Linked DNA regions of Homo sapiens: region 1 is linked to region 2. The links are contacts of gene promoters, found by promoter capture Hi-C in blood cells and fetal thymus (Javierre and others, 2016). All regions are on one chromosome and are shown on one strand. Each heading gives the region's core, a stretch centred on a gene start or on the middle of the fragment in contact. The rest is flanking DNA. Distances are from core to core; before and after follow the strand shown.

Region 1 (4,574 bases), core at 980-3,479, 240 kb before region 2:
TGTCTTTCCCAGAACCAAGAGAACAATCAGTGGCTGTGCATGGCAGACAACAGCATTCCTCAGAGCAGAAGGCTGTGAGCATCACTGTGTGTACTTAATGGCTGTCCTTGGGTCTGGAGCTACCTTGAGTAGAGCCCAGAGCTAATGCTAAGGTTCTTTCTTTCCCCTGGGGATGGGCTGTCAAATTTCTTAAATTATAGTCACTTAGAAAGAGCAAAAATCCCATGGCTTACCTCTTCCTGACCTCCCAACACGATGGAGGTAAAACATGTAGTTACAATAAGGTGTCATTGTATGGCCTACATTTTATGCCTCGCTCCCCAGTCATGTGGCAGCATCAGAGGTGATGGCTTCTGCCTGCCCTCTTTAAGTAGCCTGACATACTCCTCATAACCCCATCACAGCTGCCTAGCTGGTGCTCTTGTCCCATCCTACACATGGTGAGCCCAGAATAGCTGAGAGGTATAAAGGCCCCTCCTGGCATAGAGGGTCTACTTACCCTCCCACCCCCAGGCTACCAATTTTCCTCTGGCTACTAAGGGAATCACATTTGTGATAAACAGAAAAGCAAGACAGAAAATATTAATGGAAATCAATTCATGGGAAATAGATGGGAGAGGAAGAAGCTTTTCTTAACACAAGTTTAGTGAAGGACTTTAAATATAAGTGGAATGTCACAGCACTTGTCTTTTCTCCACAGCAGAAACCCTGGGGACACATATGGAGGACAAGGTAAGAGTCTCTATTGTTCTTTCTTCCATGTTCTTTCTTTCCTCTGGGGACTGGTTCTCAAACTTCTTAAATTATAGCCACTTAGAAAGAGCAAAAATCCCATGGTCTACCTCTTCCCTACATCCCAAAGCAATGGAGGTAAAAACACATAGTTACAACAATAAGGGGTCATTGTACAAGGAAAGTTTGAAGGCTTACAAATACATTTACTTTAGCAATGGACACATGAATGATTTTTAGCTAAACTGCAGTGCATACCTAGTCTAAAAATTCTATTTATTGGAAAATCTTTATCCTAAAATATTGTTGAGCCATACATCCATCACTTTGTACTATAAGGTTAACCAAACAATCTACAGCAACTAAATTAATATTGAACAAACCTAAGCTAATAGTAATTTGTGTCACTAAAAATTAGCATTTGGTAAACTTTGAATAATTCAAGGTATCACCACTGATACAAAAATACTTTCTTAAAACTGCAGAAATTCCAGCTCTGTGCATGTGTGCAAAAACAGTAGGTGCTTTGCAGTTTTGTCTAGTGTGGTGTGGCAGCCAGATATCTCAGAACAAAATTCAAATCCTTGGTGAAGTCCAGTGACATGCTACATTTAATTTATGAATATAAAATTCTGACAACCTTTTAAAAAATGACAGCCCATGGGCCTGCCTAACAAAGGCCCATAAGAATGAGCGAAGGCACTGTATGTTTGCATCAGTTTGCAGCTTATCAGGAGCATCTTTGTAGTCCACCAGTGGGATACAGGCACTCTAAAAATGCTGGCCTTGGACCACAGTTTTCCAAGAGGCCCTTATTTTTGCATTGCGTGATGTGCCATGATAAGATGCATCCAAGCTAACTGGGGAAGGGGACCAGTGGAGGCATGTTCTGCTTGTCTTCCCTGCTCTAGTCCTAATCTTTGCTTCCAGGTTTCCTTAGACATCTATTCCAGGCTGAGGAAAGCAAACATTACAGATGTGGACTATGAAGATGCTATGTAAGGTTATGGAAGATTCTGCTCTTTGAAAACCATCCATGACCCCAAGCCTCAGGCCTGATATGTTCTTCAGAGATCCTGGGGCATTAGCTTTCCAGTATACCTCTTCTGGATGCCATTCTCCATGGCACTATTCCTTCATCTACTGTGAAGTGAAGTTGGCGCAGCCCTGAAGAAACTACCTAGGAGAACTAATAGACACAGGAGTGACAGGGACTTTGTTATCAGAACCAGATTCCTGCCGGCTCCTTTGAAAACAGGTCATATTGTGCTCTTCTGTTTACAAGAGGAAACAAGATGGAATAAAAGAAATTGGGATCTTGGGTTGGAGGGACAGTGAAGCTTAGAGCACATGAACTCAAGGTTAGTGACTCTGCAGGACTTCACAGAGAGAGCTGTGCCCATCATTCAGTCCAAGTGCTTTCTCTGCCCAGACAGCACAGAACTCCAGCCCCGCTACTTACATGGATCATCGAGTTTCCACCTAAAATATGATTCTATTTATTTTGAGTCACTGTTACCAAATTAGAACTAAAACAAAGTTACATAAAAAGTTATTGTGACTCCACTTAATTTTAGTGACGTATTTTTGTATATATAGGCCAACCTATACCACATCCAAAATTATGTATCTATTACAGCCCCTAGAAGCTTTATAAATACAGTGTGTCTTCTTTTATTCACAAAATTTTTGAAATCGTGGTAATATGGTTTGAAACCTGTATCTTAATTATTTTTTTTTTAAATTGAGACAGGGTCTCACTCTGTCACTCAATCTGGAATGCAGTGGCACAATCTTGCCTCACTGCAACGCCTGCCTCTCAGGCTCAAGCAAACCTCTCACCTCAGCCTGCTGAGTAGCTGGGACTACAGGCACATGCCACCAAACTTGGCCATTTTTTGTCTTACGTAGAGACAAGATTTCACCGTTTTGCCCAGGCTGGTCTCAAACTCCTGGGCTCAAGCAATGTATTGAATTTTAAAATAACCAGGCACTCACTCTTATGAATTAATAAACATTTGGAGGTATATAAAGTAAAAAGTTAAAGTCTTTCCTGTAAGTTAACACAAATGTTAACTATTGTTAAAAACTTTACAGGTAGCTCTCTAGATATTTTTCTATTTTTGTATGTATACTTATGCATACATGTAAGTATATAAACATTTAGAAGTGTACCTATCTAACAAACTATTATGAAATACTTTCAAATCTGTAAATAGATCTATTATACTATTTTAAAAGTCTCTATAGTAGTGTGTTATATAGATAAATCATAACTTTTTTCTTTTTTTATTGTAGTAAATATGCACAACATAAAATTGATCATTTTAACCATTTTTAAGTGTACAATTCAGTGGCATTAAGTACTATCATAATATATTTTAATCCTTCTCATCACTGGTGGACATTAAGGAGACTCTCAAAAAATTCATATTATAAAAACAAAGTTCAAACAAATGTCTTTGTACTAGCATATTATGGCACTCCTGCTGGATTATCTGAAGGATAAATTTGTAAATCTAGTATTGCTAGATTATGCATATTAAATATTCTTGTTAAATAGTCTTCAATGTCTCTCAGGTAAGGCTGTATCAATTTATATCTTCACCAACAACGTCTGGGAAATCAGTTTGTGGGGTGTATTACTTAGTTTTCACATTGCTAATAAAGACATATCCAAGACTGGGTAATTTATAAAGGAAAGAGGTTTAATTGACTCACAGTTCCAAATGGCTAGAGAGGCCTCCGGACACTTACAATCATGGCAGAAGGGGAAGCAAACATGTCCTTCTTCACATGGCAGCAGGAGAGAGAAACTGTCCTCTGTTCAGCCTTTGCCCATCTTCTATGTCATTTGTGTTTTTCTTACAGTTTTTATAGGAATGATTTATTAAGGCTTAATTTATAACAGTGAAATGCATAGATTTTATGTGCATAGTTCCATCAATTTGACAAATGCATGCATTTGAGTAATCCAAACCCTTATCATGAGATAAACTATTTTCATCACTCCAGAAAGTTCCCTCATACTCATGTCCAGTCTATTTATGCCACTCTAGAAACAACTACTGAACATTATGCTTTTGACCATTTCTCCATTGTATGCGATGACAATGTTTTTGTGCAATCTTTCACTTCACTTTTTGTTTACAGTGAATTCTAAAATACTGAAGGTTAGTTTTTGCACAGCTAAACTCAAGTTTTTCAAATCTTGGTTTCTAACTTTCCTATATTTCTGTCATCTTCTATCAGACCATGTTGCCATGTTATAAAATATTCTTATATTTTCTTATAATGCCTCCATAGTTTTATTATATATTCACTCAATACATCATTTTTCTATGTGGTATGAGGTAAGAATCTAACTTTTACTGATTTTATCTTTATGCATTTTTTTTAATTTAAAATGTGGGGTAGGGATCTAACTTTTTTCAAACACATATAAATTGTGCACTACTATTTATTTAAATAGTCTGTTCTTTTCCCTTTTATTATTATGCTATCTTATCTCACTTGAATTCAACCTAAGCCTGTTTTAGACTCCAACTAATACTACAGATCTTCCTACCACTCTTCCCCTTGCATAATTAACTTCAAGCACATTAGCCTCCGGGTTCCTCAAGCACACCAAATTTAGTCCCAGCTCAGGAACTCTGTACTTTCTATTTCCATGCTTTAATGTTCTTTCTCTTGATATCCTTGTTTTCTTATTTCCTTCATTTGCATTTCTGCTTTGATTTTCTGTTTCTGGTCCATGGACATTTTTATTTTCTTTTTATAGAACAAACACAGCTTTTTTACATTTTGTATTTTTCCTGCCATTGCTATGTGCTTGGAGCTCA
Region 2 (4,989 bases), core at 483-2,982:
TAACAAAGGTGAAATTGCACTGTACTGTGGAAAAAATCAACTTTCAATAAATAGGGCAGGATAAATTATCTGTATTTAAGTTAAAAGTGAATATAAACACTCAAACTGTACACAAAAATCAATTGCAATGCTCTTATAAATATAAAATAAATGGTAAAAAATAAAGTTTCTAGAAGATAACCTGGGAGAGTATCTTTATGATCTTGGAGTAGACTAACTTTCTTAGAAGGGATGCAAAAATCTCTAACCACAAAGGAGAAGACTGATAAACTGGACTATGTCAAAGTTAGAATGGTTGTTCATCAAAAGGCACTATCAATGAGCAAAGAAGCAAGCCACAGATTGAAGGAAGACATTTGCAATACATATATCCAACAAAAGGTTTATATTCAGGGTTTAAAATAACTACAAAACAGGAAAAGAAAGACTGAAAGTTAAGAGAAAAATGAGGAAATATTTGAACAGAGATTGCACATAAAAAGGATATCTACATCACCAATTAGACTATGAAAAAATGCTCATTCTCAAATTCACCAGAGACATACAAATTAAAACCACATTGAGATAATTCTAGCAGAACGGCCAGATTTTACTAGATGACAATACCAATATCAGCAAGAATTTTAGAACAATGATAACTCTCATACATTGGTTGGTGGGTGTGGTGGGAATTGGCACAACCACTTTGGAAAATAATTTGGTAATACTTCCTAAACTGAATATATGCATACCTTATGAGCCAGGACTTCCACTCCCAGATATATACCCAACAGAATTATGTGCGCATATGCCCCAATAAATGTATACAAGAATGTTCATAGCAGCACTATTTGTTTTAGCACCAAAAGTAGGTAAAGATTCTGTGTTCCCTTTGAAGTTCTCCTCTTAATCTCTATTCACCCCTGTAACCCCTGTATGGTTTTCTTGCCTCAGGGTGCAGTGGGTCAGATGTGACATAATATACCTAAGGTGATGTGCATTTGTAGATATAAAATTAAATGCCCCCTTAGGAAGACCAAGGTATGGGCCCAGAGAGAAAGGGTGAGAAAATATTTGAAAGAAAGAAACTGGCACTCCTCGTGGCAGCTAATGTCTTAGGAACCTCTGTTGACCAGTATACCAGGATGGAAACTTGACTTTTAGAAAATCATAAGAGCTATACATTCACCTGGTAATTTTTTAAAAAATCAAACGGTACAGAAATACATAAAATAAATTGTGTTCTTCCCACCTATTGCTCCTCAAACATAATCAATATTTTTGTGTGTACTTTCCAGGAAAAGAAGAAAGTATACTTAAAAGAGTTGATGTACACATATATCCTATTTTTTATATTTACCCAATGGGATAATACTACAAAACCAATCTATATCTCACTTTTATTCTCTTCACATCAAACAAGGTGGTCTTCCCTTCTTGGCATGTTCAGATTTACCTTATTCTTTAATGATTGCTTGTCACCATACGGATGAATCAGAATATTCTTAAACAGTCCCCATATCATGGTTTTTTGTTTTGTTTCCAGTGTTTAGGCAATAATGAATGCTACAATAAACGTTCTTATAGTACTCTCTTCAGATACTTCCTTCAGGGTAATTTCCCAATAGCAAAAATGTAGGGTCAAGGGTATTTGATTTTTTAAAACCTTAACTTTTTTTTTTCTTTGATCATCGGGTAGGAAACTGTGATTAGCAGCTGAAGACGGGTACTCCCACTTCCTTTTTTCAATTCACTAATGCATTCTGCTCTTTTTGAGAGCACAGCTTCTCAGATGTGCTCCTTGGAGCTGGTGTGCAGTGTCCTGACTGTAAGATCAAGTCCAAACCTGTTTTGGAATTGAGGAAACTTCTCTTTTGATCTCAGCCCTTGGTGGTCCAGGTCTTCATGCTGCTGTGGGTGATATTACTGGTCCTGGGTGAGTAAAAGGGCTCACCATGGGCCCTGGGTGGGATCGGGACAGCTTCTCTCTCCACCGCAGGCCTGGTCCTTTCTTGGGGCTCAGCCCCTGCTGAGAGACTCTCTCCTACATTAGGAGACTGTATTTTTGAACTTTACTCTGTAGCTCAGGGCTTTCTCTTGAGGCTGAAGAAAATGGCCACAGCTGGAAGGAATTTTCAATCTTACAGAGTAGGAAACCACAATAACCACAACAATTAAAATTTCATTTATTTTTTTCTTTAAAAAGTACTTCTTAAAGTCCAGAGAATGTTTCATGTTTGTTTGTTCATATTGTCTTACTCATAGAAGAGCCCACTCTCCTCTCTGCAGAGGAGATGTATTTATTCCTTGTATGACAAGGCCAGATCCTGGTCCCCAGCATAAGAGGCAAGGTTTCTAACGGGAAAGACAGGTCTTTCTCTTGTACATAATTGCAAACCACTGCAGCAATTGGCTGATTAAGAACATGGGGTGGAGGAGGTCGCAGAGGCGTAGGTGGACAAAGCAAGGATAAATCTAAAGCATATGACTTTCTCTTTGTCCCTGTGGGTGTACGTAAGTCTCTATCAACTCATATGTGCGAACTGGTTGATTTTTACTAAAGGTTAAATATTATAATTAAATATGTTTATTTATTTGTTCAGCAAATGTGTTTAGTAATATCTATGCACAGGTGCTGAGCAATTAGAGTCCATAGGAGACACTACGTCTATGTTCTGGAAAGTCATGACATAGAAGGGCTCCCAGCAAGGCCAATGTACTTTCAAGCAGCTATGCAACAAGCTCCCAGTTAAATAATTGTCCAGGCAAAGTTACCAATGAATGCTGTAGGCAGATAATAAACTGTATTCAAAATAGCTAGTAAAGACTTCATGAAACTTAGAGGTGAGTAGGAGCTAGAGGAGCAGAAATGGAGCAGGCGTGATATAAGAAAAGAGGACCTCACAGTTGGAAGGTGCATGGACTATAATTCCTGAAGTAGGAATACATCTCAGTGTGGCCCCACACAATGTGGGTAATGGCCAGGTCCTGAGCATGAGAGGGCAAAGTTTATAACATGGGCTCTGGGGTCAAACAGGATCTAGGTTCAAACTTCATCTTGCCACCTACTGGCTACCAGATTCCTGGTCTACAAAATGCAGTTAATCCTAGTGCTTACCTCACAGGATTATTGACATGGTTATATGAAATAACCTACGTAAATGCAGACCATATAGAAACCACTCACAAAAATATTAGCTTCATTTAAAACAATGCAAAGATGAAGGAAGCCAAAATATTCAGGTGAATGGTGAATAATTTGTTGTTCTCAGTAAAACACTTAAGTTTGGATAAGTCTCCAATAGCCTCATGTGGACAGGGATGATTTGTCTCTCACACACTCCTGGATTTCTATTGCCTTGCTCTGGAGTATGATTGGCATTCCAAAAATCTGTTGAATAAATAAATCAACCCATATGCAGAATACCTACTCAATTGATAAACCTGCCAGTTTTGTGTCCTCTCTCTCTTCATTACCCATTTCTCAAATCTCTATCCTTCTATTCCTATATTATTAACCTAGTTCTTTAATTAATTCATTATACAACACAAATATATTTAGTGAACATTAAAGGAATATCTTTTATATGCCATTCACCGTTATAGGTCCTGGAGGATATATGGTGAACATAAGGAAAGTCCTAGGTCTCATAGAGCTTGCATTATAGAGAAGGGAAAATAAACAAGCAGATAATGAAGATAATTTGGATAAATACTCTGACAAAAATTACACATTACCATCTCTTGGGCTGAGCATCAGGTCTAAATAATCTGAGCATCAGTTGATTGTTTAAAAATTAGGCATGATGATAATGAGCCCTTGGATTCAATGATCTCATGAAAAGAGTATAGCCTGGAGTCTGGTGCCCAAGGGAGGCTTAATTCATGTCCATTTCCTTGCCCTGCCTTCTAATCAGTCTCCCTGCTTCATATTGTCCCATTAAATTCTGTCCACTGACAGAGTGCTCCATCAAAGTCTGAAATTCTAACCTTGTCAATCTCCTCCTTGAAACCATTCCATGACTCCTTATCACTTTTATAATAAAATTAGAACCACTTACTCAGGCCCTGCATGCTTCTCTGGTCTTATTTCCCCCAACACTCCCAGTTCCTGAGCACCAATGTCATTTCTCCACTTCTGTGCCCTTTCTACCTTGAAAGGTAGAAATCGCCTCTTACCACACACAAATGCTAACATCCACCTGCAGACTCATGTTCTCACTCACAGTTTTGTGAAGTATCATCTCCTTCAGGTACCTTCAAGGATCCACCCATCCTGTTCAACACATGTACACACAAACACACACTCTACACACACACATATATCCTACACACTGGGCTAGTGGCCCTTCTGCCCCCAACATACCCCATGTGTATTTCTGTTATTGCACTTACACCCTGTGTTATATTATTTTAAATCGTGTTTCTGTTTTTCCACTAGTCAACTTCTTGATGGCAGATACCATTTTTAAAATTCATTGTAGAAGTCCAAATACCATGCCATATATATATGTATATATATGTATATTTATGTGTATATATATACATTTGATGAATAATTATTAGAGTTTTTAAATGAATTTTTTAAAGGGACAAGTAATACATGCATGGGTAAAAAAGGGAATTATCTTCTTAAAACAAAATAATCATGGTTCTGTGCTCATCTCTGGCTCTTATTTTTTTGCAGCTCCTGTCAGTGGACAGTTTGGTGAGTTCTCCTGTCTTTGGCTCTTCAGCGTCTCTGGTTAAGAGTGTCTCTTCCTAATAAATAGAAAACATTTGTGATGGCTGCCTGAGATCTCCAATATCTCCTGTTTTCTTTCCTTTTTTTTATTATACTTTAAGTTTTAGGGTACATGTGCACAACGTGCAGGTTTGTTATATATGTATACATGTGCCATGTTGGTGCGCTGCACCCACTAACTCGTCATTTAACATTAGGTATATCTCCTAATGCTATCCCTCCCCCCTCCCCCCACCCCACAACAGGCCCTGGAGTGTGATGTTCCC

What was found. Contacts are between HindIII fragments. The CHiCAGO score rates a contact against its expected background, and 5 or more counts as called.
Region 1: a fragment that was not itself captured here is called in contact with the fragment with the promoter of FCRL5 in region 2 in 1 of 17 cell types (naive B cells); the score reaches 5.3 in naive B cells.

Annotation. Positions count from the first base shown.
Region 1 is chr1:157,793,259-157,797,832 of GRCh38, reverse strand. FCRL1 (Fc receptor like 1) reads left to right here. Exons shown (of 11, transcript NM_052938.5): 10 at 701-732; 11 at 1,663-3,430. The coding sequence ends at 1,734. Among named protein-coding and RNA genes, the nearest start is that of FCRL2, 18 kb to the right of the region's middle. The HindIII fragment of the contact is 309 bases long and covers 2,075-2,383 here.
Region 2 is chr1:157,549,258-157,554,246 of GRCh38, reverse strand. It overlaps FCRL5 (Fc receptor like 5), which reads left to right and starts at 1,732. Exons shown (of 17, transcript NM_031281.3): 1 at 1,732-1,915; 2 at 4,667-4,687. The coding sequence starts at 1,885. The HindIII fragment of the contact is 25,493 bases long and covers 1-4,989 here.